7 separate regions of the Homo sapiens genome follow, and regions 1, 2, 3, 4, 6 and 7 are each linked to region 5. Evidence: promoter capture Hi-C in 16 types of primary human blood cells and fetal thymus (Javierre and others, 2016). All regions are on one chromosome and are shown on one strand. The core of a region is centred on a gene start or on the middle of the fragment in contact, and the rest is flanking DNA. Distances in the headings are between cores, read along the strand shown.

Region 1 (3,533 bases), core at 49-2,548, 280 kb before region 5:
ATGTGTGGACCACTGTGGATACCCAGGACAATTTCAGGTGGTAGATGTATAATCCTTTTTTTTTTTTAAGAGATGGGCTCCCGCTATATTGCCCTGGCTGGTCTCGAACTCCTAGGCTCAAGTGATCACCTGCCTCAGCCTCCCAAAGAGCTGGGATTACAGGTGTGAGCCACTGTGCCCAGCTTGGATCAATATTTTTAATAGTTTTGCATTGATTTGCTAGTACCTAAAACTATAACTGTGATATCTCACTTTGGGAGGCAGAAGAGGGAGGATCATCTGAGTCCAGGAGTTTGAGACCAGGCTGGGCAACACAGTAAGACCCTGTCTCTAAAAAAATTTTAAAATTAGCCAGGTGTGGTGGTGCATGCCTGTAGTCCCAGCTACTCAGGAGGTTGAGGTGGGAGAATCACTTGAGCCCAGGAGTTCAACACTACAGTGAGCCAAGATTGTGCCACTGCACTCTAGCCTGGGTGAAAGAGTGAGACCCTGTCTTAAAAAAAAAAAAAAACAAAAAGCCATGGCAGGGCCTGGGTGTGAACCTGGCCGCACCAGTCACTAGCTGTGTGACTGGGCCAGCTCTCCATGCCTCAGTAAAATGGGCATCAACAGGCCGGCGCAGTGGCTCACGCCTCTATTCCTAGCACTTTGGGAGGCCAAGGTGGGTGGATTACCTGAGGTCAGGGGTTCGAGACCAGCCTGGCCAACATGGTGAAACCCCGTCTCTACTAAAAATACAAAAATTAGCTGGGTGTGGTGGTGGGTGCCTGTAGTCCCAGCTACTTGAGAAGCTGAGGCAGGAGAATTGCTTGAACCCAAGGGGTGGAGGCTGCAGTGAGCTGAGATCGCACCACTTCACTCCAGCCTGGGCAAAAGAACGAAACTCCATCTCCAAAAAAAAAAAAAAAAAAAAAAAAAAAAGGCATAAACAAAGTATCTTCCCATAAAGTTCTTACCAGGATCAACTGAGGTAATCAGTAAAGTGCTTAGTACTGTGCTTGGCATACCATGTCAGTGTTTGTTAAATAACTATGCTGACATGGCAAAAGTTATCAGGTTGTGTCATGCAATGACAACTATTCCTTTCCCATTACTTGGGGAAACAACAGTGATAACAGAATGGCTTGAAAATAATTTCCTATGTCGTCCCTAGATAGTCTGTAGCTTTTGCTCAGTGTGGCAGTTCCAGGAGTGTCAATGTTGCTAAAGCCGGTAGAGTGGGGGTGGGAGGAGAGGCAGGAATTTGACCTCTGTGGGTGGAGGGTCCCGAAGGCAGGGGGCTGACCTGTGTGGGTGCGAGCATGCCGTTGGAGCTCGTCACTCCGTGTGAACCTCTTCCCACAGAAGAACCAGTTGCAGACAAAGGGCCGCTCGCCAGTGTGCAGGCGCACATGGGCACGCAGCAAGGACGTCTTACGGAACGTCTTGCCACAGTCGGGGATGTGGCACACGTGCTTCTTCTTGCCCTGCTCTCCAGACCTGAGAATTGGGGTGAGGGTGGAGTGGAGGGAATAGGAAGAGGAGAGAAAAGCGGTAGAGGATGGGGCAGGAACAGGATGCAGTGAGGATGTGGGGTCAGGTCAGAGAGCACAAGGAGGCAGGGGGCAAGGTGGCACAGAGCTGCCAGCTCTTCCTTGCCTGGTCTGTGCCAGCTTGCAGCTCTGGACAACTGTCCAGGAGGGGCTTGGGGAACACAGGCCAGCCTTGTGGCTTGGGCCTTCTCCTTGAATTACCTCTTCTCCCCATCCTTGCAGTTGGGACACGTGCAGGCCATGCGGCGCCGCTTCTCCCCGGGCTGGGTCTCTCCGGCCAGGGCTTGTTCCATTTGCAGCTGGATCTGGGTGGGGCTCAGCCCACTGATGGTCAGGTTGTTCCCAGAAACATTCTGCACTGTCAGCTGCTGCTGCCCTGTGGGGACAAAGAGGGGCAGAGTTCAGGGTGAGGAAGCCTGAAACCTCGAGTCAACCCTTCTGCCCTTCTGCACATGACAAAGATGATAATCACAGCAGCTATTTTTGAGAGCCTGCTGTATGTTGGATATCATTTTAAGGACCTTTGTACAGGGACTCATTTAATCTCCATGACCCTATAAAATAGGTACTATCATCAGCACTTTACAGATGAAGAAACTGAGGCTCAATAACATATCAAGATCACACAGCTAGTAAGTGGTAGAACCCAGATCTGAACCCAGGAAGCCCATTTCAAAGTCAGTGCCCTGAACCACTGTACTATGTAGGCAGAATTTGCTTTAGAATATTGCCAACATGATTTCAGCTGGGAAGGGTCTTAAGACATTTCTTCCTGAATCTCCTCCAACCTTAGGCCCCTGTGAGATACCAACTCTGCTTTTAGGAAAGTCTCCAGGGATTTCTGTTAAAAAGACAAGAGGTCACAGGCTAGGTACAGTGGCTCATAGCTGTAATCCCAGCACTCTGGCAGGCAGGACAATTGCTTGGGCCCAGGAGTTCAAGACCAGCCTGGGCATATAGGGAGACCCCCATCTCTACAAAAAACTAAAAAATTGGCCGGGCATGGTGCTACATGCCTGTAGTCCCAGCTACTCAGGAAGAAGAAGTAGGAGGACTGCTTGAGCCCAGGAGGCTGAGGCTGCATTGTCATGATCGTGCCACTGCACTTCAGCCTGGATGACAGAGCGAGGCCCTGAGGCCATGTCTTAAAAAAAAAAAAACCAAAAAACACAAAAGAGGACACAGTTCTATGGGCTTTGGGAAAAATCAGATCCTCTAGGATGCCTTATCCTCTTGGGGGTCACCTCAAGAGGGAAAAGCAAATGTGTTAAAGTGCTAAACATTCATTAAGGATGGGCTGGGCACGGTGGCTCACACCTGTAATCCCAGCATTTTGGGAGGCTGAGGCGGATGGATCACCAGGTCAGGAGTTCAAGACCAGCCTGGCCAAGACGGTGAAACCCCATCTCTACGAAAAATACAAAAATTAGTCGGGCGTGGTGGTGGGCGTCTATAATCCCAGCTACTCGGGAGGCTGAAGCAGAGATCGCACCACTGCACTCCAGCCTGGGCGACAGAGTGAGGCTCTGTCTCAAAAAAAAAATTCATTAAGGATGAAGAGAAATTCAGAGAGCTCCCCCTACATAAGGAGCCATTTTTGCTAGGTTGCTCCAATTTTTCCTTTGGTTATTTGCAAGGCTGGTTTCACAGCATAAATCTCACCACTGAACTGAAGTGCAGCACAAACTATTCTGACTGCCAGGGCTCCCTTCTTTTCTTCCAACCTTAACGCAAGGCTTTCTCCTTCAAGAAGCCGTCTTTGCGTTTGGATGTCAGTTGGAAAGTTTTCCGAGTACATCTATCTTCTCTGTCTTCAGCTGTCAGATGGGGACATGTGCCTTAAACTATCTCTGAGTGCTATTGTAAGGACTAGGTGAGAAGCTGCAGGTGGACGTACCCTTAAGCTATGATGGACAGCATCCTCACTATTGTTACTGGAAATCCCGGGGCCAGCCCATAGTTTCCACCTGCTAGGAGCAGGTACCACTGCCAACACCCTGG
Region 2 (3,625 bases), core at 1,126-3,625, 330 kb after region 5:
ATATTGTAATCTTATTTTGCATTTCCCTAATAATAGTGATTTTTTTTTTCGCAAACCTGTTGGCCATTTGTATGTCTTCTTTTAAGAATGGCTGTGTCAGGCTGGGCATGGTGGCTCACACCCATAATCTCAGCACTTTGGGAGGCCAAGGTGGGAGGACCGCTTGAGCCCAAGAATCTGAGACCAGCCTGGGCAACATAGTGAAGCCTCATCTCTACAAAAAAAAATTTTTTTTAAAAGTCTATTCAGATTATTTGTCTATTTTTAAAATCAGGTTATTTGCTTTCTTGCTACTGAGTTTCTTGTATATCTTGGATATTAACCTCTTGTCAGATGTATAATTAGTAAATATTTTCTCCCATTCAGCAGGTTGTCTCTTCACTCTGTTAACTGTTTCCTTTGATGTGCAGAAGTTTTTAGTTTCATGTAATTCCATGTGTTTATTTTTTGTTTTCTCGCCTGTGTTCTTGAGGTCATGTCCAAAAAAATGCCCAGACCAATGTAGTGGAGCTTTCCGCCTGTTTTCTTCTAGTGGCTTTCTTCTATTTTTTCTTCTAGTAGCTTTCCCTCTATGTTTTCTTCTAGTAGTTCCAGTCTTACAGGTAAGTCTTTAATCCATTTTGACTTTTGTATACGGTGTGAGATAAGGGTCCAATTTCATTTTTCTACACATGGATATATGGTTTCCCAACAGTTTTTATCAAAGAGATTCCTTTCCCCATTGAGTGTTCTTGGCTCCTTATCAAAATTCAATTGTCTGTAAATTCTGGACTCTCTAGTATGTTCTATTGGCCAATGCATCTGTTTTTATGGAATACCATGCTGTTTTGATTACTGTAACTTTGTCGTTTATTTTAAAGTCAGGGACTGTGATGCCTTCAACTTTGTTTTTTTTTTGCTTTTTTTTTTTTGAGATGGATTCTGGCTCTGTCTCTCAGGCTGGAGTGCAGTGGCACAATCTCGGCTCACTGCAACCTCCACCTCCTGGGTTCAAGTGATTTTCCTGCCTTAGCCTCCCAAGTAGCTGGGACTAGAGGCGCGCACCACCACGCCTGGCTAATTTTTTTGTATTATTAGTAGAGACGGGGTTTTTTTTTTACCATGTTGGCCAGGCTGGTCTTGAACTCCTGATCTCATGATCTGCCCGCCTCGGCCTCCCAAAGTACTGGGATTACAGGCGTGAGCCACCACACCTGGCCCAACTTTGTTCTTTTTGCTCAAGATTGCTTTGGTTATTTGGGATCTTTTACGGTTCCATATGAATTTTAGGATTTTTTTATTTCCATGAAAAATAACTCTGGAATTTTGATAGGAATTGCATTGAATCTATAGATCACTTTGAGTAGCATGGGCATTTTAATTATATTAATTATTCCACTCCAAGAACATGGGATGTCTTTTCGTTTATTTGTGTTTTTTCCAATTTCTTTCATCAGTGTTTTTTAGTTTTTAGTATAAAGATCTTTCACTTTCTTGGTTAAATTTACACCTTTTTTGTTTCAGTTTTGGTTTTTGCTAATATAAGTAGAATTATTTTCTTAATTTCTTTTTTGGATTTGTTGTTGGCCTCTAGAAATGCTGCTGATTTTTGTGTGTTGACTGTGTACAGCAATTTTACTGACTTTATTAGTTCTAACAGTTTTTTGGTGGAGTCTTTTGGGTTTTCTATATATAAGATCATATTGTCAACAAAGAGAAAATTCCAATGCTTCCTTTCCTATTAAGATGCCTTTTATTTCTCTTGCTTAATTATTCTGACTAGAACTTCCAGTGCTATGTTGAAAAAAAAAAAAGCAGTAAGAGTGGGCATCCTTTTCTTGTTCCTGATCTTAAAGGAAATGCCTTCAACTTTTCACTGTTGAGAATGTTAGCTGTAGGCTTATCATATATGACCTTTATTGTGTTGAGGTACGTTCCTTCTATACCTAATTTGTTGAGAATTTTCATCATGAAAGGATGTTTAATTTCATCAAATGCTTTTTATGTATCTATTGAAATGATCATATGATTTTTGTTTATGTGGTGTATCACATTTATAGATTCCCATATGTTGAACCATACTTGCATCCCAGGGATAAATCCCACTAGATCATGGTGAATTATTCTTTGAATGTATTGTTGAAGTCAGTATGCTAGTATTTTGTTGAGGATTTTTGTATCTATACTCATTAGGGATATGACCTGTAATTCTTTAGTGCTTTTTAAATGTATATAGTTTATCTCCCCAAAGATTCTGAAATATCTGAGTGCTGAGACCATGTCTTTTATTTTTGTAAATACCCCTCAATCCACCCTCCATCACCCGCTTTCCCACTCCCCACGCCTGTTGTGTTTAAGGATGGTACCTCGGAGTACTGTTCAATCAGGCAAAGACTCTCTAAAGATTTTAAGAGTGGCTGGGTGCAGTGGTTCACGCCTGTAATCCCAACACTTTGAGAGGCCGAGGTGGGTGGATCACCTGAGGTCAGGAGTTGGAGACCAGCCTGGCCAACATGGTGAAACCTCATCTCTACAAAAATACAAAAAAATTAGCCGAGCGTGGTGGCGGGTGCCTGTAATCCCAGCTACTCAGGAGGCTGAGGCTGGAGAATTGCTTGAACCCGGGAGGCGGAGATTGCAGTGACCCAAGATCTCGCCACTGCACTCCAGCCTCGGTGACAGAGTAAGACTCCGTCTCAGAAAAAAGATTTTAAGAGTATGGCTCACAGGTCCTCTCATTCAAACAATAGGGCTTCTAAGAAACTTAAGGTCTTTGTCCTTCAGCAGAAGCCCAAGGTAGAAAAAGACATATCTCAAAGGTATTTGCTGCCATGGCTTTTGTCTCCTGGACTAAAACCCAGTAAGATTCACAGTAGATTCAAAAATTGTTTTAAGAGAATTGTATTGTCAGAAATACTGTCAGCTTGAGCTGAAAAAGAGTACAAAAAGGAAAGGGGCCTTTGGACCCTTTCTACAAACGCATTTCTACAAACAGGAAGCAGGCTAAGAAAACTATTTAGGTCCAAACACATCTCCCTTTCACACAAAAAAGGATGACTTAGAGGATAAAACCAAGAGCCCAGAAGGTGGAACCAAAAGCCATAGGGAGTTATTCCCAGGCTTTGAGTGTAGAACTGCAAACCTGTACTCAAATGGATTTCAGAATTGCTATGAACCAGTGACTTCTGTGCACCTTGGTTTCCACCTGTTGGAACAGGAGTGTCTATAGCAGTTATCTCCCTGCCCCTGCTGTTTTACATTGGTTGCTGTGGGGAAAGGAGCATATGACCTTTTTCTTTTTGTTCGCAGAACTTCAGATTGAAAAGCATGTACTTGAGTAGCTGTATTTAAGGAATTACACCCAAGAAGTCTCATCTTCCCTGGACTTACGTAGAGGATAAGATTCTGAACTTTGAATTGATGCTATAATGGGATAAGACTTTGGGGCCTTAGAAGGGGTAAGTTTATTTTGCATGTGGGAGAACTATAAATAATTTGTGACCAGAGGGTTGCCTGAGGTAGTCTTAAAATATGTCCACAAACACTTTGATATTTGTATTCATTTCCTATGCTGTGGTAACAAATTACCACAAACTTAGTGGCTTAAATAGCACAAATTTATCATCCCAAGTTTCTGGAGGCCAGA
Region 3 (3,955 bases), core at 1,090-3,589, 370 kb after region 5:
ATAATTTAAGCAGACACCTTCATGGAAAAGGCAGCATGGGAATTGGGAGGAAAGAGAGGGGACAAATATAGATAGTGGTATGCCAAGGCCAGTTCCATACAACCACAGTTACCCAGACAGTTCAGACTCCAAAATCCTCAAATTATCTGAAGCTCCCCATCAACATTACCCCCATCCAGCTAACCTAGAAGATAAGAGATTGAGCTGGAAACAAGACTCCCTGAGCTTAGATCCCAGGTGCCCTCTGTACTAGTCATGGGACCTTTGGCAAGCCTCTCAATCCAACCTATGAAAGAGGGGCCAGGATAGCACATATCCCATAAGAGTTGTGAGACTTAAGTAAGTTCATACACACAAAGCACTTAGACCAGAGCGAGGCTCGAGTTGCTATTACTATCACCTTATACTTAACACTTTCCTAAAGTAACAATAAAGCAAAAGTCCATCAGTAAGTTAAGGTCCCTGAACCATCAATAAATTGATAGATCATGCAAGACAGGAGCATTTCTGCCCCCAGTCAAAATAGTGTGTTTAATTAATAGCTGATGTCTTGCCTGGGAACCTTACAACCCAGATAGAAGGTTGAATGCCACATCATATAACTTCAAAACTTTTTCTTTTTTTTTTAGAGACAGTTGTGCTCCATTGTCCAGGTTGGAGTGCAGTGGCACAATCATGGCTCACTGCAGCCTCAACCTCCCAGGCTCAATCAATCCTCCCACCTCAGCCTCCCTGTAGTCCTGGGGACTGCAGGCATGCGCCATCACACATAGCTAATTTTTTTGTAATTTTTGTAGAGATGGGGGTCTCACTATGTTGCCTAGGCTGAACTCAAACTCCTAGGCTCAAGTGATCCTCCCATCTTGGCCTCCCAAAGTGCTGGGATTACAGAAGTGAGTCACCCCACCTGGCCGTAACTTTGAAAACTAAAAAGTAAATTCACACCTTTTCAGGCTCAGCAACCAGCATTGTAAGTTATTCTAATACATGGATTTGCACAGTCTCCACCGATTAAATAAATAAGCCATTCAGTTTTAAGCCAAAGTGTCAAACAGAGGCACAAGTTATCCATTTACAGACTATAAAAGTGTCCAACAAATGTCATTTCCACTCTTTTATATTCCTTAGCACTTCATTTCTTCTGTTTTCACCCTGCAGGATGCACGGCCTTGATGAAGACAATAATGCCAACAATGGAATCGATCCTTCTGTAATCGTAATTTCTCGGTTTCCTTATCCATAAATTTCTTTCTACTTTTGACGTCATTTCCCTCCCATTCTCTCTTGCCTTCTATTTATTTGTTACCAAGACTGAGAAGCTGATGAATTTTCTTTCTAGGTTCTCCAAACAGCCTTAGGCTCCATTGACACAACACTCCAGATCCACAAGCTAGCCCATTTGCCAAACAGGGAGACCAAGGTAGAAAGGAGCTATAGTTTGGCAAGAAGACAGCCAACAAAGTGATCCTAGAGCTAGAAATAGGAACCAGGACTTGGACCTTCCTGGGGCAAAGGATGCTGTCCTGGCGTCTGGAGGAGGGACTTACTCATAGCAGGGGTTTTCGAGGGCCTCTGGTGGGGAGATATACATGTATGGTGACACAGGCTTGTCCACAAATGCCCCGAAGCCAATCCGCAGGTTACTGGTGAGCTTTCGCATCTGGGTGGCCAGCTTGGTACCCAGGTTCTGGATGCTCCACAGATCATCCTTCATGGAGTAAGACAGGTCCATCAAGTAGTAGATGTCCACAGGGTAATCCTCCACCTGCCGCACTTGGATGGAGAAATTCTTCGAATCATCTGGAAGGCAGAAAGATGTTAGTTTTTATCTTCTTCTCCCACCAAGATTGAATAAGCAGATTTGGATACAGTTGGGACTAAGAAATTGCATGATCAAAGCAAACCAGAAAGCCCTGGTCCCTTTTCCTCTTCCTTTGCAATTCTATTACTCTTCTAATCTCTTGACCCTCCTATTTTTAACCTCTTCTTTTCCATTCTAAAATTTTCCACTTTCTCTAAATCCCAGGGGATTTCTAATCCTGTGAGTTCCACGGGTCTATCACTGTGAGTCACAGAGATTTTGATAGTTACTACACTTCAGACTCTGTAAAAGACAGAAACTGCACCCTACCCTTCTCTGAATCCCATTGCATCCAACACATGCCTTGATAGTAGGTAAATCCTTCTTGACTTAGTTGGAAAGTCAAAATCAATGCTTCAAAATTTCTGTCTTTAGTCTAACCCTTCCTCCCTCTAAAGGTCTTGTGTACCTATTGTGTCTGCCCCCATTCCCCTGTCCCAATTCCCCATGAAAGGGGGGCTTACAAGTCGCTTTCTTGTTCTATATCTCATTTGCACCTCAACACAAAGCTCTAAGCTAGGTAAAACAGGCACTTGGGTAAAGAAGAAACAAATATTTTTTGAGCACCTACTATGTCTGAAGGGTTAAGTAACTTGTCCAAGGTCAAATAGCTAATATATGATACAGTAAAGATTCACCTCAGATCTTCTGACTCAAGTCCTAACGTCTCTTATTTTCTTCCATTCTCTTGCCCACACCTCCCCCCTCATCCTTGTCTTCCCACCCCATTTCCATTCTGAGCTACTTCCCCAAGACTTCCTCCTCAGACCTCCACCTTGTGCTCTATGCCCACCTGCTTCAGGTCTCTCCCCGCAAAGAGTCCCAGCCCTACCTGGCCGGAGCCGGAGTGCAATCCTCTGGGGACTGACTTGAGTGACCTGGGAGCTGTCTCCAGAGCCCTTGTCGCTGAGGGGCCTGTCCTCTAGTACTCGGGCCTCACTCACTGGGAACTCGATGGATTCTGGGGCACAGTTATCCTTCAGCAGATTCTCCTTCAGGTCACAGCGAGGTGAGCCCAGAGGCAGGGCCTGTAAGACAGGAGCCCAAAGAGAAGTCCAGCAATCAGAGCTATGGCGACTCTCTACCTCCTGCAGGCCCTACCACTTCCCAATAGCTAAGAGTTTACCCCGTACATTGGAGCATAAACAAATTGTTGTGGTCTTTCCTGGGATAATCCCTTAGGACCGTTGTACAGAAAGGGGAAATTGATACTTTGGGAGGCCAAGGCATGAGGACTGCTTGAGGCCAAGAGTTCAAGACCAGCCTAGGCAACATAGCTAGACCCCGTCTCTACCAAAAAAAAAAAAAGGAAAAAGAAAAGAGAAATTGAGATATCAAGAAGGCCTATTCATGGAGTTGTAGCTAGAAGGAGAGCCTGTACAGTAAGATGCCTGGTAGACCAGCATTTTTTAACTGTGGAATACCACACATTTGTGGGTCCCAAAATCAATTTAGCAGGTGTCAACCATCATTTTGTTAAATAAAATACAATAGAATAGAATAGAAAATATGAAAGTGTACAAATAGTCAAAGGGTTGTTTTGTGAAATTCTTATATTGTTGGAGGAGAGTGGAGAATAACACATATAATAAATAACTATACCCAGTACAGTGTGTTTCTTTCTGTAGGTCAGAGTCAAAACAGTTTGGAAGCTACTGTATTTGACACGGGCTAGACTGTGAGATCCATGTAGTCAGGGACTGTGTGTGTCTTGGCCCCTCTCATTTCCCAGCATCCGACCTAGGACTTACCACAAATGTGATAGGGAAAGGCAGTGTAAGGAGGCAGGAGAGAGTCAGGGCTAAGAGCACAGGAGTAAATCTCAGCATTGCACTTACAACTGCTTACTAAGGCAAGTCACCTAATTCCTCCAAGCCTAGTTTCCTCAGCTGTAACACGAACATAATAACAGTCCCTCCTTCAGTACTTAACAGCAATCAAAATCATAGAGTCAAAAAGTAGAATAGTAGTTTCCAGGGACTGGGAGGAATAGAGAATTACTGTTTTGATGGGTACAGAGTTTTAGTTTTACAAGATGAAAAGAGTTAAGGAGATAGATGGTGGTGAGGGGTTTCATGACATTATGAATGTACT
Region 4 (3,615 bases), core at 215-2,714, 330 kb before region 5:
TGGGCAACAAGAGCGAAACTCCGTCTCCAAAAAAAAAAAAAAAACCTCTCTTGGTCCCCCTCAGCTCACATCCTCATCAAGGTTTTGAGAAACAGTTAAATGTGCAAGAAGCCTCATCTTAGCGCTGCATTTTTTGTTTCTAGACACGTGGGGGCCCTTGAGCACCCCACTTTTGCCAGGGCTGCAGGGGATGGTGCACTTACCCTGGGTTCCTGCTTCCAGCACTGTGATCTGCAAAGCAACAGCATCGTCTCCCCAGTCTATCCCATCACCTCCAGGATCCTGGAAGGAGAGCAAAGAACCACAGCAATGGGGGGAGAATTTTCCTGAGCCAAGGAGCCAGAATAAACCAAAGCCCTTGATGAGGTCAATGGCTGCACATTCCAACTCTATTAAGGATTTGCAGCCCTGACTTAGGTGCCAAAAATGGCAGTATGGCCCATCATCCCTGCTCTGTAGTGTTCCCACCTGCCTTTACCCCTACACCCTGTACCAAACACCAAGAAAAAGGACATCAAAATTTAACTCTCACATGGGCTGGGCGCAGTGGCTCACGCTTGTAATCCCAGCACCTCAGGAGGCCGAGGCAGGTGGATCACCTGAGGTCAGGAGTTACCAGCATGGCCAACACGGCGAAACCCTGTCTCTATTAAAAATACAAAAATTAGCCGGGCGCGGTGGCTCACGCCTGTAATCCCAGCACTTTGGGAGGCTGAGGCGGGCGGATCACGAGGTCAGGAGATCGAGACCATCTGGCTAACATGGTGAAACCCCATCTCTACTAAAAATACAAAACAATTAGCCGGGCGTGGTGGCGGGCGCCTGTAGTCCCAGCTACTCAGGAGGCTGAGGCAGGAGAATGGCGTGAACCCGGGAGGCAGAGGTTGCAGTGAGCCAAGATGATGCCACTGCACTCCAGCCTGGGCGACAGAGTGAGACTCTGTCTCAACAAACAAACAAACAAAATAAAAAATTAGAGGGGTGTGGTGGTGGGCGCCTATAATCACAGCTACTTGGGAGGCTGAGGCAGGAGAATCACTTGAACCTGGGAGGCGGAAGTTGCAGTGAGCCGAGATTGCACCACTGCACTCCAGCCTGGGCGACAGAATGAGACTCTGTCTCAAAAAACAAAACAAAACTCTGACATGTGACGTGTGAAACTCTGCCTCCCTTGGACTATACCTGGTCTTAGAGCTATGAACTTCAAGTGATGCCGTTACAGACACAAATGACACTTTTCTTATGGTTAGAGTAGTGATCAGAGAGAGACAGACTGAGAAGGCCTCCTCACCTTTGAATCTGATTCCGGGAAGATGCCCCAGTCGATTCCAGCAGCCTCGGCAGAGATGCCAGAGTCAGTCCCCTCAGACACTGCCTCTACCCCAAAGTCGCCCCAGTCAATCTGGAAAGGGAAAGAGAGTGTTAGCTCATGGAAGATGGATTTAAAAAGGGCCGGGCATGGTGGCTCATGTCTGTAACCCCAGTACTTTGGGAGGCCGAGGATAGTGGATTGCTTGAGCCCAGGAGTTTGAGACCAGCCTGGGCAATATGGCAAAATCCTGTCCCTACAAAGATGTTAATAAAAAATTAGCTAGGAGTGGTGGTGCAAACCTGTAATCCCAGCTATCTTGGAGGCTGACTTGGGAGGATCGCTTGAGGCTGAGAGGCAGAGGTTGCAGTCAGCAAGGATCATGCCACTGCACTCCAGCCTGGGCAACAGAGCAAGGCCCAGTCTCAAAAATAAATTAATTTAAAAAGGAGGGTGGGGCTGCCTTCCCACAGGCCTCAGCTGCTTCTGTAGAGAGCACACTGTTCAAATGCAGTGGCCTCTAAGCTACCCCAAAGAAAGCCCATCTTCAGAGAGCTCACATGATGGAGGTTCCGAGTTCAAAGCGAACCACCTTGCAAAGCCTCTGTGGCACTCACTCACCTATACTCAGAAAAATAAAGGAGTAGGGCCTCCTGGGCCCTTCTACCTACAGTCACTCTCACAGAAATCCTCCCTTCTTCTCTCTGGGTCTTGGGTTGGGCTGTTGGGGGTGGGGAGGGGACAAGCAGCTCCCACTCCACTCCTACAGCTCATCACAAGGCCCATCTTACCGCATCTTCTGCCACCTGCTCAGGAAGCTCCTCGAGGTGGGGTCGTTCCACCACAGAGGGCTCTGTCCCTGTCCTCCACTCGTACACCGTTGAGTTTCCCCGCTTCTGCACGAACCGCAGCATTGGCAACACCTGCTCTGTGGGGCTTCAACAGAGCACACAACTGACTCTCCTGCCGACCATGCGTAAGGCCAACACTGGGCTTTGGCCTGGGCCACATGGTCAAATGGGCAAGGCCCCCACAGGTTCAGGTGTGTAAAGAGTTCAAATGTTATATGGGAACAAGACAACTGGAGAAGGGTCATGAGCTGGGGAACACAGGCAAAGCACCCCCACCAGGAGAAGCTGAGGCCTCTCTACCTCTCACACACAAACCCCACAGACGCCTGGTACACGTCAATGGCTTCCCCCAGGGACTGCTGAGCCGCTGCCCCAATCTCAGCCAGCTGACTCGGCAGGTCCTTCACCAGGGCCAGCAGTTCTCCTCGGACATTTTCGCCCTAGAGAGGGGAGAAGAGGTGGAGTCCAACAGATTGAAGAAAACATCCAAAGACCGAAGAAAAGTAAGACACTGGCCCAAAGGGGGTGCAACCAGGCTGAGGGGTCAGACGGGGTCAGAGGAAGACAAGCAGGGGCCCAGGTGTCCTCTGGCTGCGAAGAGGCTGCCGCCGCTCACCGTGATGCCATACTGCTTGCAGGAGTGGTAGAACTGCTCCCGCATCTCGGCAGCCCCTGCCTGGCACTCCTCCTCCTTGCGGCTGTATTCTTGCTGCAGCTGCTGGCACTTGGCAATCTGCTTCTTCAGTGAGGGGATCTCATAGTTGACATTCCGAACCAGGAGGCTAGAGAGTTCCACTGAGAAGTGCCCAGGAAATTCAGCCCAGGACACCCCCACATGAGGCAGGCATGCCCCAGGATGCACACACATCCTTTGTGGTGGTGAAGAGCACGAAGTCAGCTTCCCAGCCCCACTTGTTCCCAGCTGTGGAGCCTAAGACAAGTTGTTTAACCCCTCTAATCCAACCCTCATCGGTAAAACAGCGACAATAACATTTATCATGAAGATGCAAGAGAGAATCCACATGACACACCAAGCACAATTCCTTGCATTTAGTAGATGCTCAGGAAATATTAGCCATTATTATTATTTATACTACACCCAACCCAAACACAGTTAGTCCTGTAGTTGCTCTCAGGCACTTGATATTCGCTCCCAGAAAAACCCGTGCCTCTTCTGCCTTGTGTAGAATGGGGGTGCGGGGGTGGGGGTGGGGGCAGCACACTCCCGCTAACCAAGAGGTGAGTGGTGGAGGACCCACACACACCTGCTCGCTGAGGCACGGCGAATGGCCACTACCGGCCTGGACCTCCTCCTTCCCCCAGCACTCCACTCAGGGAAAATCAATTCCATCAAAAACAATTGATTTTACCACCTACAAATGGGCAACATCTACACTCCAGTCTCTTCCCACTCACAGACTGTGCCTCCTATAAGCCTGGTATCTCAGAACTCTG
Region 5 (3,614 bases), core at 999-3,498:
AAGGAGGTGATCTTTTATGAGAGGGGGAAATACAGATAAGCCTAAAACAAACTTAGGAGCCTCATCCTCCGTTTTATTTGTGGGCACTCAGCAAAAAGGGAACAATGAAAAAAGCAGATTTATAAGGAAAAGTGATAAGATATTTAGAAATAGGGAAAAAGTGAAAGAAAAAATCTTCAGGCAAGCTGTTCAAGCAAAATAACTTTGTATCTAATGATCAACAATTACTTGCTCCTTTACATTTGGACTTTAGTTGAGGAATACAGTGGATCCCTGAAAAGCATGTTCTTTTGTAACCTTTTGTAATCCACAGGCCTCAAAAACTACTCCCTTTGTTTAAAAATTTAGCACACACACACCTCTCCACCAAAAACCGTGCCCAAACAGCAAAGTTAGCAGGAAAAGTCAAAAGCAGACACATTTTTCTTACTGCTAACAAGCTCTGCAATCACAGCAGAAGATAATTCTTAAAAGTTTTATTAATTATGTACCACTAAAGAATGTTAAGAATGTTAGGAATAAGATAAAAAGCTTTTTGCAAAATTTGCAAAAGCAGAAACAGGAATAATACCCTAAATGGAATTATCAGCCTATACTAGTGGAAAAATCTCTTCTAGGAAAGGATAAACAGGTTAGTTGTAAAAATTGGCACATATGAAAAACAACAAAAAAATCATTCAAAGGCAGTCTGTATAAAATAAGCCTTGTCACTTTGTTGATGTTGACATTTTGCCTATATAACACAAAGGAACACATATGGTTAGTGTTACTCAGACTTAATTCCTATTACCTTTCTCAAAGATGTCAAGCATCATCCAATCCTTCCCTCTGACCCCATCCCCCAACAGGAGATGGACACCAAAGAGAAACTTAACTGGCATCTAGGCTGTTTCAACCAATCCATCCCACATTTTTATACAAAGGACCAGTCTCTAGCGGACTTAGCTTCATTTTCTCCGGACCCCTTAAATTTTAAAATATGAAAAACGAGGAACTTTCCCCTGTGATTTCATCAGCAAACAGGCCCCATCTCAAAGATGAGCCTCAGTCTGTTTTCTGGGTGCAGATCCCTAGTGATTAGGTCTCTATTCATCCAGGTCAGAAGAAAAAAAAAAAAGAAAGAAAGAAAAAGAAAAAACCCCAAGAGAGGAATAACCGAGCAAAGAGGGAAAAATATCAGTGGAAATGGGTTAAGAGGCAGTCGGGTGCCAGGCCTGGCCATGAGTACAGACCAAGGTAGCTAGGAAAGGGCAGAGCTCTAGGAAATAGGTGGGGAGAGCCACAGGGGCCACGGGATAGGAAGGAGAAGCCGGCCGGGGTCAGACAGGGCGGGCGGCCGGGCCCGGAGCTTCCACATGGCCCCTAGGCCCGACTCCCCCGCCCCCACCCCTGCTGAACACGCAGCGCCGCGCAACCTAACTTCCCTTCCCTCCCTCTTTCTCCCTCCCGCTGCACCGCCGCCCTCAGGCCGCGCAACGATTGGGCGGCAGGCAGCTCGGCGCGCCAAGCCATTGGCCAGTCGCGAGGCCCGGGGCGGGACACACCCACCGGCTTCCCGATGGCGGGGTTAGGTTGGACCGGGTTGGGGGGGGAGGGGGAGGGGGGAGGGGGACGGGATGGGGCGGGGTAGGTTCCCGAGGCCTGGGCCTCCGGGAGGGCGGGAAGGCCCCGCACGCAGGGGATGGGGACGCGGCGGGATGGGCGCGGCGGGGTAGCACGCACCAGGTTCTCCACGGCCGCACGCTCCAGGAACTTCTGCGCCGCTTCCAGCTCCAGCCGATCTAGGGGGAGGAAAGTGGGAGACGGAGCGGGGTCAGAGGGGCCGGGCCTCCCCTCCCCCACCCCAATCACCTCAGCCCTACCCCCGGCTCCTGCGTCCTACCGGGAGACACGGTCTTCTCGAGAATGGTGATCAGCTCCATGGCGGAGGTGGCGGCGGCGGCGACTCCTCCTAAGACGACGGCCCGGCCTTTCGGGCGGCGGCTCGAACTGGGGATGGGGGTTGGGGGTCGGGTGGGAAGGGAGGGTGGGGTGGGGGGCGGGGGTCACCACAAACCCATTCACCGGCTCTGTCTGGGTAGTCGGTCCGGCTCCCCTTCCTCTCCTCTTCCCTTACTTCCTCCCTCCAAATGGGCTGCTGGCGGCGGGGGAGGGACCCTGGGGGCAGCTCAGAGCGCGCTGGTGCTCGGGAGGCGGAGGGAGAAAGAAGGAAGGGAGGCTGTGAGTGAGAGGCGGCGCGCAGGGAGGGAGCGAGGGAGGGAGGAAGGCGGAGGGATATTCGGACCGGACCTCTCCGCGGAGGCGCCGCGCTCCACGACGATTGGCCGTTGTCCTGGCCACGCGGAATCCCTAACTGGCCAGGCGCTCAGCGTCGAAGGGCCGTCTCGCGCCCATTCGCCTGCTGGTTTCAAGGCCCGGGTTGGCTGGGCGGGCAGCGGAATGGAGCGCGCGGATTGGCCGAGGGGAGGGAGATTGGGATGGGGTAGGAGAGAGCCCGCCGTTGATTGGGTGGGCTTGGTAAAGGCCTTGAGCTCAGACCGGCTGAGCGCTGGGAGGAGGGTGGACCGGAGGCACGACTCGGATCCTGCGCGATTGGCTGGGATAGTAGGCGTTGATAGGATAGGGTGCCCGGGAGAACTAAGGAGAGGAGTTCGGGGTCGGGGCGCGGGAAGGCGGGAGGTGCCCGGCAACCCTAGGAGCCCGGCGCGGGGCACGATGGGACGCCCCCGGGAAGAGGCGGAGCTGGGTTCGAGCGCTGGGGCTGCGGTTGGGTAAGCGCCGTCGCTCCGAGGGGCGTGTTGCGCGAGGTTTTCGCGGGCCTGAGCGGGGGAGGGGGGACTGTTGAAGTCCTGCGCCGCGCCCACAGGAAGCTGCTTTAATGGCTAGGTCGGCTTGGTACCCTGCTTTCGGCTGGGAGGGATCCGTAAGGCCATGTGGCTCCACTGCCAATGTGTAGATGTGGAAACTGAAGCCCAGAGAGGGTATGGAACTTGTCCAAGGTCACACAGCTGGTTAATGGCTTGGTAAGGAATGGGTTCAGGAGCCCAGAGAGGGTCTGGAACTTGTCCAAGGTCACACAGCTGGTTAGTGGCTTGATAAGCTCAAGCTCTCCTGACGGCCCTTGTCCCTACAAGCAGCTTCCTCTCCAAGGAGTCCCCTAAGCCTGCTTATATGGGGCTTGAGACCTGTGCTGTGATAAATCTGACTTGCTTAGGGGTGAGCTAAGGGATTCCTCCTCTTAGACCCCCCATCCATAGCTACCAGGTACTTGACAGGATGGAAATGTTTCACCCTCCAAAAGTACCCTGTAAAGGCCCAACCTCGAACCAGAAAGAATGTGTGTACAGGAATAAAGGATTGTGGTTCTTAACCTGTTTCAGTTCTCAACCCCGGAAGAAACTCATGAATGCCTTTTCTTAGCAAAATGCATATAAAGAAAACGTGGGCCGGGCGCTGTGGCTCGCGCCTGTAATCCCAGCACTTTGGGAGGCCGAGGGGGGCGGATGACGAGTCAAGAGATCGAGACCATCCTGGCCAACATGGTGAAACCCCGTCTCTACTAAAATATAAAAAATTAGCCCGGTGTGGTGGCGCGTACCTGAAGTCCAAGCTAT
Region 6 (3,917 bases), core at 509-3,008, 300 kb before region 5:
AAAAAAGGCACATCATTTGGAGTGTCTTTCTGGTCTTTTTCAAAAATGGAGTGAACACTTCCAGTTTTTAAAAGGAGGTGATACCCTCTAGCTTTCTGGTGTACACTGGCTGCGCCTTCCTTCCTGGGAGCTTTCACAGCCGGCAGCTAGGCATCCTGAGAACAAGACCACCGACCTCACCAGTCATCAGTGTTCCTCTACCTGTTCTGTCATTGATCTTCCTTCATCTAGCAGACTGTCATCTGCTTCTATCTTACATACCCCAGCAATCAATGATGTCCAGGCAACCTCCTCTCCGAGAAGTTCCGCTAGCTCATATAGTACCTTTGTGGAAATTAGTCAAAGGTGAGCCCCCAGGGAAGGCAGCTCCATGGCAGGACACATGGCCTGTGAGTGGAGAAGCCTGGATTTCAGCCCCAAGCCCCACCCTGCAAGGTACAACCTGTGATGACCATGTCTCCCCTGTACTTCTGGGATCCTTCTAACTGCTTTCTGCCTTTTTAGCTCCCCTTCCAACTCCTGTCCTTGTGGAAGCTTGGTGGGGAAAGGGAACCATCCCTTAGTAATTATTCCCATTATCGTAAGTTTTACTTTGCAATGCATGGTTACCTCTGTGGGCAGGGATTAACAGTAGAGCTAAATGCTAGTGCTGGATGGGATGGGTGAGGAAACTGAGGCCCAGAGAGGTGGTGGCTTGCCAGTGGTCATGAGGCTAGGACAGCCCCCAGGACTTCCCACTCCCAGCCTGAGGATCTGACTCCTGCCTTAGGAACAGCCCAGCAGTTACTTTAGCCCTGCTGGTCACCACTGGGAAGTTCAAATTGCTTGGAATGCCACTAATTATATTTAATTTTGTAATGAATTCCAAGCAAAATGCACAGGGTGTTTCCCTCCCTATGCTACCAGTCAATGGTCTGCCCATGCCTGGCAGCAGGGTCTGGTGGTATAGTGGGAAGTTTGGGAAGAGCATCAAAGGCCTGGATGCTGTGTGACTCAGGCAAGCTGTCCACCTGCCTGTGGCCCTGAGGGGCCTGGCAGGAATTATCTCAAAGCTCCTGACAACCCTGCAGGGCAATGGTGTGTGCCTGTCCCACTGCCTCTCTGTCTGGCGAGTGGCTTCCCTGTCTTGACCTTGACTTTGACCCTTTTCTTGTCTCACACTCTCCAAAAGCATTGTGTCACCCCACTGACCTGAATCTTGGGTTTATTCAGCCCTACCTTAAATTCTTTCTTTAATTCTTCTTCTTCTTCTTCTTTCTTTTTTTTTTTTTTTGAGATAGTCTCACTCTGTCACCCAGGCCGGAGTGCAGTGGCATGATCTCAGCTCACTGCAACCTCTGCCTCCCGGGTTCAAGTGGTTTTCCTGCCTCAGCCACCCGAGTAGCTGGGATTACAGGTGCGTGCCACTACGCCCAGCTAATTTTTGTATTTTTAGTAGAGCCGGGATTTCACCATGTTGGCCAGGCCTGTCTTGAACTCCTGGCCTTAGGTGATCCACCTGCCTTGGCCTCCCAAAGTGCCGGGATTATAGGCATGAAGAACCACGCCCAGCCCTTTATTTAATTCTTAAAACAGCCCATGATTAGGAGTCTGCAGCAAGCTGGTCCAAAGGCACCCACCCCCTTTTCCCACTGACCCCTTTGTCTCCCCCACCCTGCTCCAGCAGAAAGCCCCATCCTTGGCTTAGGGAGCGCCATGACGACTGAAATTGGTTGGTGGAAGCTGACTTTCCTCCGGAAAAAGAAATCCACTCCCAAAGTGCTGTATGAGATCCCTGACACCTATGCCCAAACAGAGGGAGATGCAGAACCCCCGAGGCCTGACGCTGGAGGCCCCAACAGCGACTTTAACACCCGCCTGGAGAAGATTGTGGACAAGAGCACAAAGGGCAAGCACGTCAAGGTCTCCAACTCAGGACGCTTCAAGGAGAAGAAGAAAGTGAGAGCCACGCTGGCAGAGAACCCTAACCTCTTTGATGATCACGAGGAAGGACGGTCATCAAAGTGAAGGGCTGAGGAGGGTGCTAGCACCTCTTGGCTCCCTGCCATCAGCCAGATCTGAGACAGGACCTTGCCACGCTGGCCTCTTTGGCCATAGCTGAAGCTGTGGGGCCAGTTGATACCTGCTGGCAGGAAATGGCTGTTTTTTAGGTTTGTATTTATGTGCCGCCACTTTTGTAAGGCCTGGGAGATCCCAGGGTCCTCCACCCTCCCCCTGACCACATACAAAGGCACTCTAGTTCAAGAGTGAAAAGTCTCACCCAGGAGGAACAGCCCTCCTTGAAGCAATGGCAGGGCCAGCAGGGAGGTGGGCATGGCAGGGAATGGAGAGAGTGAGCCAGACAGACTTCACCTCCTTACTGGACACAGGGTCAAGGGCGAGTTTCAATTGCTGCTCCCTTTACTTTCTCTACCTGTGACTACTCCCTGGACCAATCCTGAGGAGGGCACATTTTCCAGAAGCCACGTGATAGGGGCTGGTTTCTGTGGAGCCAGAGGCAGAGACACTGAACTTGAGCTCACCTCCTAACACCGGCAGTAAACTTCCTGGAACTTTGCCCTCAGGTGCGGAGGGGACAGAGGACCCTGGCACTCTGTTAGGGTGCTGTAGAAGACTAGATTGATGGTAGTTTGGCCTGTTAGTTCCTGTTTTGGCCATGACTTTTGCAGATGGCAAGTCACACACCCTCAAAGGGAAGCTACACGGGCCAAATCGGGGGAGTGGGTGGGGAATTTTCTCCTCTCCCTTTCCTACTATAATAGTATTTAAGACATATCAGCTCCAGAGATGAGTCCTGGAGCCTTGAATTTTGTTTAACAAAATAATTGTAGGTTTCTCTCTGTAATAACAACGCTGGAAAGGCAGAGAACCTCTTTTATGCTCATGTCTTGCATTTATTGAGATGACTGTTTCTCATGCCTTTATGTTCCTTCATGTAAGTAAAGTGGACCTTTGTGCTCAAACTGTTCCTTTCAAGCTTCAGGAAGGGTTCCCAGGTGTGACAATGTAGGAACTGGGTCACTAATTTTTACCATCAAACTAGCCTTAGTATGGGGATGGGGCAGCAGAAGGAGCTAGTTACACCTCAGTGGTCAGTTCTCTCCAGTCAACAGAGAGCCCGTCAGGTGCTCTAAGAGAGTAGGGCAGACCTTTGGTGATTGACCCCAAAGTTTCAGTGGTTTGGTTTGGGATTAAGATTCAAACTCGGGCTCTACCCCTTAGTAGCTGGGTGACCTTGGGAACATTTGCTTGTACTCTGAGCCTCAGTTTCCTCTTCTGTAAAAGGGGGCTGAAATAATACCTATCTCATAGGGAGTGGTCAGTATTAAGTGGCCTATGAGAGGTCCCATAGTAAGTGCTCAGTTTAATACTGGTTTCCTTCCCCCTTCCTTTATAAGGAACTCCACCATACCCCACAGCTTTGGTTTAAGAAAAAGGAGAAGGTGGGTATAGTGGCTCAGGCCTGTAATCCTAGCACTTTGGGGGCTGAGGTGGGAGGACTGCTTGAGCCCAGGAGTTTGAGACCAGCCTAGGCAACATAGAGAGACCCCATGTCTAAAAAAAAACCAACCAACAAACAAAAAGTAGCTGACTGTGGTGGCACATGCCTGTAGTCCTATCTACTTGGGAGGCTGAGGTGGGAGGGTTGCTTGAGTCCAGGAGTTCAAGACGACAGTGAGCCATGATTGTGGCACTGCACTACCACCTGGGTGACAGAACTAGGTCTTATCTCTAGGGGAAAAAAAAAATTAATAAATAAGAGATGCTTGGCACGGTGGCTCATGCCTGTAATCCCAGCACTTTGGGAGGCTGAGGCAGGCAGATCACCTGAGGTTGGGAGTTCAAGACCAGCCTGGCCAACATGGAGAAACCCCGTCTCTACTAAAAATACAAAATTAGCCAAGTGTGGTGGCACA
Region 7 (3,542 bases), core at 940-3,439, 300 kb after region 5:
ACAGACAGCAACAGTAGTAGGGGGCTTCAATACTCAACTGACAGCATTAGACAGGTCATCAAGACAGAAAGTCAACAAAGAAACAATGGACTTAAACTATACTCTAAAAAAAATTGATCTAACAGAAATTTACAGAACATTCTACCCAATAAATGCAGACTATGAATTCTATTCATCAGCACATGGAACATCCTCCAAGATAGACCATATGGTAGGCCACAAAACAAGCCTCAACAAATTTAAGAAAATTAAAATTACAGCAAGTACTCTTGCTACAGTGAAATAAACTGGAAATCAACTCCAAAAGGAACCCTCAAAACTATGCAAATACAGGGAAATTAAATAATCTGCTCCTGAATAATCACTGGGTCAACAATGAAATCAAGATGGAAATTTAAAAAATCTTTGAACTGAACAATAATAGTGACACAACCTATCAAAACCTCTGGGATACAGCAAAAGCAGTATTAAGAGGAAAGTTAATAGCATAAAATGACTACATCAAAAAGTCTGAAAGAGCACAAATTGGCAATCTAAGGTCACACCTCAAGGTACTAGAGAAACAAGAACAAACCAAACCCAAACCCAGCAGAAGAAAAGAAATAACCAAGATCAGAGAAGAACTACATGAAACTGAAACAAGAAAAAAAATGTAAGTCAAAAACCAAGTAGATAAAAGAGAACCAGGAAAATCCTAATGCCATGGAGTCTATCAAAATGCCAAAAAGAAAAAGCAAGCCAAGCATCATATCTATATTGTTCACTGCTGCATATATAGGCATATTAATGTTTATTACATAAATGAGTAAATAAGTATTGAAGAGTTTTTATTGCCCTTTACTTGCTAATCCAGTTCTATAAAGACTATCACATTCACATATCCTTGATTCTAACAAAATAAAATCTGGGCTGGGTGCAGTGGCTCACACCTGTAATTCCAACACTTTGGGAGACCAAGGCAGGCGGATCACTTGAGGTCAGGAGTTCGACATCAGCCTGGCCAACATGGTAAAACCCCATCTCTACTAAAAATACAAAAATTTAGCCAGGCATGGTGGTGCATGCCTGTAGTACCAGTTACTTGGGAGGCTGAGGCAGGAGAATCCCTTGAACCCGGGAGGCAGAGGTTGCAGTGAGCCAAGATTGTGTCACTGCACTCCAGCCTGCATGACACAGCAAGACTCCATCTCAAAAAATAAAAAAAAATAATAAATAAATAAATAAATATACAATCTGATTCACTATAAAAGGAACATACCTCAAAATAATAAAGGCCATACATGACAAACCCACAGCCAACATCCTACTGAATGGGGAAATGTTTAAAGCATTCCTCCTAAGAACCAAAACAAAACAAGGATGCCTACTTTCACCACTCCTATTGAATATATTACTGGAAGCCCTAGCCAGAGCAATCAGGCAAGAGAAAAAAAAGTAACAGGCATCCAAGTTGGAAAAGAGGAAGTCAAATTATGTCTGTTTGTTGATGATATAATCTTATACTGAGAAAACCCTAAAGACTCCTCCCAAAAAACCCTGAGATTTGATAAACAAATTTGGTAATGTTTAAGTAGATAAAATCAACATACAAAAATCGGTGGCATTTCTATACACTAGTATCAAGCTGAGAACCAATCAAGAAGGCAATGCCATTTAGCTTAGCTACAAAAAACAAAGTACCTAGGAATACATTTAACCAAAGAGGTGAAAGATCTCTACAAGGAAAACTACAAAACAGTGATGAAATAAACTATAGAGAACACAAACAAATGGAAAAACATCCCATGCTCATGGATCAAAAACTTAATATCATTAAAATGACCATACTGCCCAAAGCAATCTACAGATTCAGTGCAATCTCCATCAAAATACCAATGTCATTTTTCACAGAAATAGAAAAAATAATCTTAAAATTTACATGGAACTAAAGGAGCCCAAATAGCCAATGTAATCCTAAACAAAAGAACAAAGCTGGAGACATCACATTACCTGACATCAAATTATACTATAATAGTAACCAAAACAGCATGGTACTGCTATAAAAGTAGAAACATAAATCAGTGGAACAGAAAACAGAACCCAGAAATGAAGCTTCATATCTATAGCCACCTGATCTTTGACAAAGTTGACAAAAACATACACTGGTGAAAGGACACTCTTTTCAATAAATGGTAAAGGGAAAATTGGATTGCCATTCACAGAAGAATGAAACTGGACCCCTATCTCCCACCATATACAAAATCAACTCAAGATGGATATAAACTTAAATGTAATACTTGAAGCTTTAAGAATACTAGATGAGGCCGGGCGTGGTGGCTCGCGCCTGTAATCCCAGCACTTTGGGAGGCCGAGGTGGGAGGATCATGAGGTCAGGAGATCGAGACCATCCTGGCTAACACGGTGAAACCCCGTCTCTACTAAAAATACAAAAAAATTAGCCAGGCGTGGTGGCGGGCACCTGTAGTCCCAGCTACATGGGAGGCTGAGGCAGGAGAATGGTGTGAACCCAGGAGGCAGAGCTTGCAGTGAGCCAAGATCGCACCACTGCACTCCAGCCTGGACAACAGAGCGAGACTCCATCTAAAAAAAAAAAAAAAAAAAAACTACATGAAAACCCAAGGAAAACTCTTACTGACATTGGTCTAGGCAAAGAATTCATGACTAAGAACTCGAAAGCACAAGCAACAACAACAAAAAAAGACAAATGAGACAACTAAACTAAAAAGCTTCTGCACAGCAAAAGAAATAATCAACAGAATGAACAGACAACTTGAAGAATAGGAGAAAATATTTGCAAACTATGCATCCAACAAGGACTGATATCCAGAATGTACCAAGAACTCAAACAGATCAAAGACAACAAAAGCAACAAATAATCCTGTTAAAAAGTGGGCAAATGACATGAATAGACATTTTTCAAAAGAAGATATATAAATGGCCAAACGAGCATTATGAAAAAATGGAAAGCAGTGTGGAGATTTCTCAAAGAACTAAAAATAGAACTACTGTATGATCCAACAATTCCACTACTAGGTATATATGCCCAAAGGAAAAGAAACCATTATCTCAAAAAGATACCTACACTCATATGTTTATCACAGCACAATCCACAATAGCAAAGACATAAAATCAACCTAAGTGTCCATCAATGGATGACTGGATAAAGAAAACGTGGCGCGCGCGCGCGCGCGCGCGCGCACACACACACACACACACACACACAGTGGAATACTAGTCAGCCACAGAAAAGAATGAAATAACATATTTTACAGCAACATGGATGAAACTATTAACTATCTGACTTTCTGTTTCTGACTTGTTTCACTTAAGATAATGAAAGCCATTTATAGGTAGGAGCCAAATTTATAGGTGGGAGCCAAATGTGTACACATGGACATAGAGCATGAAATAATAGTTACTGGAGACTTGGAAGTGTGGGAAGGGGGTGAAGGATGAAAAATTACTTAATAAGTAAAATATATAACTATTCGAATAATGGTTACACTAAAAGCCAGACTTTACCAGGATGCAATATATCTTGT

What was found. Contacts are between HindIII fragments. The CHiCAGO score rates a contact against its expected background, and 5 or more counts as called.
Region 1: a contact is called between a fragment that was not itself captured here and the fragment with the promoter of KPNB1 in region 5, in 1 of 17 cell types (neutrophils). The highest score is 5.2, in neutrophils.
Region 2: a fragment that was not itself captured here is called in contact with the fragment with the promoter of KPNB1 in region 5 in 4 of 17 cell types (erythroblasts, naive B cells, megakaryocytes and 1 more); the score reaches 10.5 in erythroblasts.
Region 3: a fragment that was not itself captured here is called in contact with the fragment with the promoter of KPNB1 in region 5 in 1 of 17 cell types (erythroblasts); the score reaches 5.1 in erythroblasts.
Region 4: a contact is called between a fragment that was not itself captured here and the fragment with the promoter of KPNB1 in region 5, in 1 of 17 cell types (neutrophils). The highest score is 5.0, in neutrophils.
Region 6: a contact is called between a fragment that was not itself captured here and the fragment with the promoter of KPNB1 in region 5, in 1 of 17 cell types (neutrophils). The highest score is 5.1, in neutrophils.
Region 7: a fragment that was not itself captured here is called in contact with the fragment with the promoter of KPNB1 in region 5 in 4 of 17 cell types (erythroblasts, total B cells, megakaryocytes and 1 more); the score reaches 8.3 in erythroblasts.

Annotation. Positions count from the first base shown.
Region 1 is chr17:47,923,294-47,926,826 of GRCh38, reverse strand. SP2 (Sp2 transcription factor) reads right to left here. Exons shown (of 7, transcript NM_003110.6): 5 at 1,734-1,908; 6 at 1,286-1,479. The region is part of intron 1 of SP2-AS1 (SP2 antisense RNA 1); the gene reads left to right. Among named protein-coding and RNA genes, the nearest start is that of SP2-AS1, 16 kb to the left of the region's middle. The HindIII fragment of the contact is 7,634 bases long and covers 1-3,533 here.
Region 2 is chr17:47,318,284-47,321,908 of GRCh38, reverse strand. It overlaps EFCAB13-DT (EFCAB13 divergent transcript), which reads left to right. Exons shown (of 3, transcript NR_110880.1): 2 at 3,289-3,437. Among named protein-coding and RNA genes, the nearest start is that of EFCAB13-DT, 3.8 kb to the left of the region's middle. The HindIII fragment of the contact is 6,957 bases long and covers 1-3,625 here.
Region 3 is chr17:47,282,288-47,286,242 of GRCh38, reverse strand. It overlaps ITGB3 (integrin subunit beta 3), which reads right to left. Exons shown (of 15, transcript NM_000212.3): 3 at 2,694-2,889; 4 at 1,548-1,800. Among named protein-coding and RNA genes, the nearest start is that of ITGB3, 30 kb to the right of the region's middle. The HindIII fragment of the contact is 5,999 bases long and covers 1-3,955 here.
Region 4 is chr17:47,974,499-47,978,113 of GRCh38, reverse strand. CDK5RAP3 (CDK5 regulatory subunit associated protein 3) reads right to left here. Exons shown (of 14, transcript NM_176096.3): 6 at 2,777-2,955; 7 at 2,461-2,600; 8 at 2,101-2,245; 9 at 1,292-1,402; 10 at 204-282. Among named protein-coding and RNA genes, the nearest start is that of CDK5RAP3, 5.2 kb to the right of the region's middle. RefSeq lists an enhancer at 2,215-2,715. The HindIII fragment of the contact is 8,194 bases long and covers 1-3,615 here.
Region 5 is chr17:47,648,553-47,652,166 of GRCh38, reverse strand. KPNB1 (karyopherin subunit beta 1) reads right to left here and starts at 2,248. Exons shown (of 22, transcript NM_002265.6): 1 at 1,883-2,248; 2 at 1,723-1,781. The coding sequence starts at 1,922. KPNB1-DT (KPNB1 divergent transcript) reads left to right here and starts at 2,739. Exons shown (of 4, transcript NR_171700.1): 1 at 2,739-2,771. RefSeq lists silencers at 1,228-1,277, 1,578-1,717, 1,828-1,897, 2,328-2,507, 2,518-2,567 and 1 more and an enhancer at 3,248-3,614. The HindIII fragment of the contact is 6,441 bases long and covers 534-3,614 here.
Region 6 is chr17:47,951,013-47,954,929 of GRCh38, reverse strand. It overlaps PRR15L (proline rich 15 like), which reads left to right. Exons shown (of 2, transcript NM_024320.4): 2 at 1,667-2,963. The coding sequence starts at 1,696. The coding sequence ends at 2,007. Among named protein-coding and RNA genes, the nearest start is that of PRR15L, 4.9 kb to the left of the region's middle. The HindIII fragment of the contact is 2,443 bases long and covers 537-2,979 here.
Region 7 is chr17:47,350,961-47,354,502 of GRCh38, reverse strand. All of the region lies in intron 9 of EFCAB13 (EF-hand calcium binding domain 13), which reads right to left. Among named protein-coding and RNA genes, the nearest start is that of EFCAB13, 29 kb to the right of the region's middle. The HindIII fragment of the contact is 191 bases long and covers 2,094-2,284 here.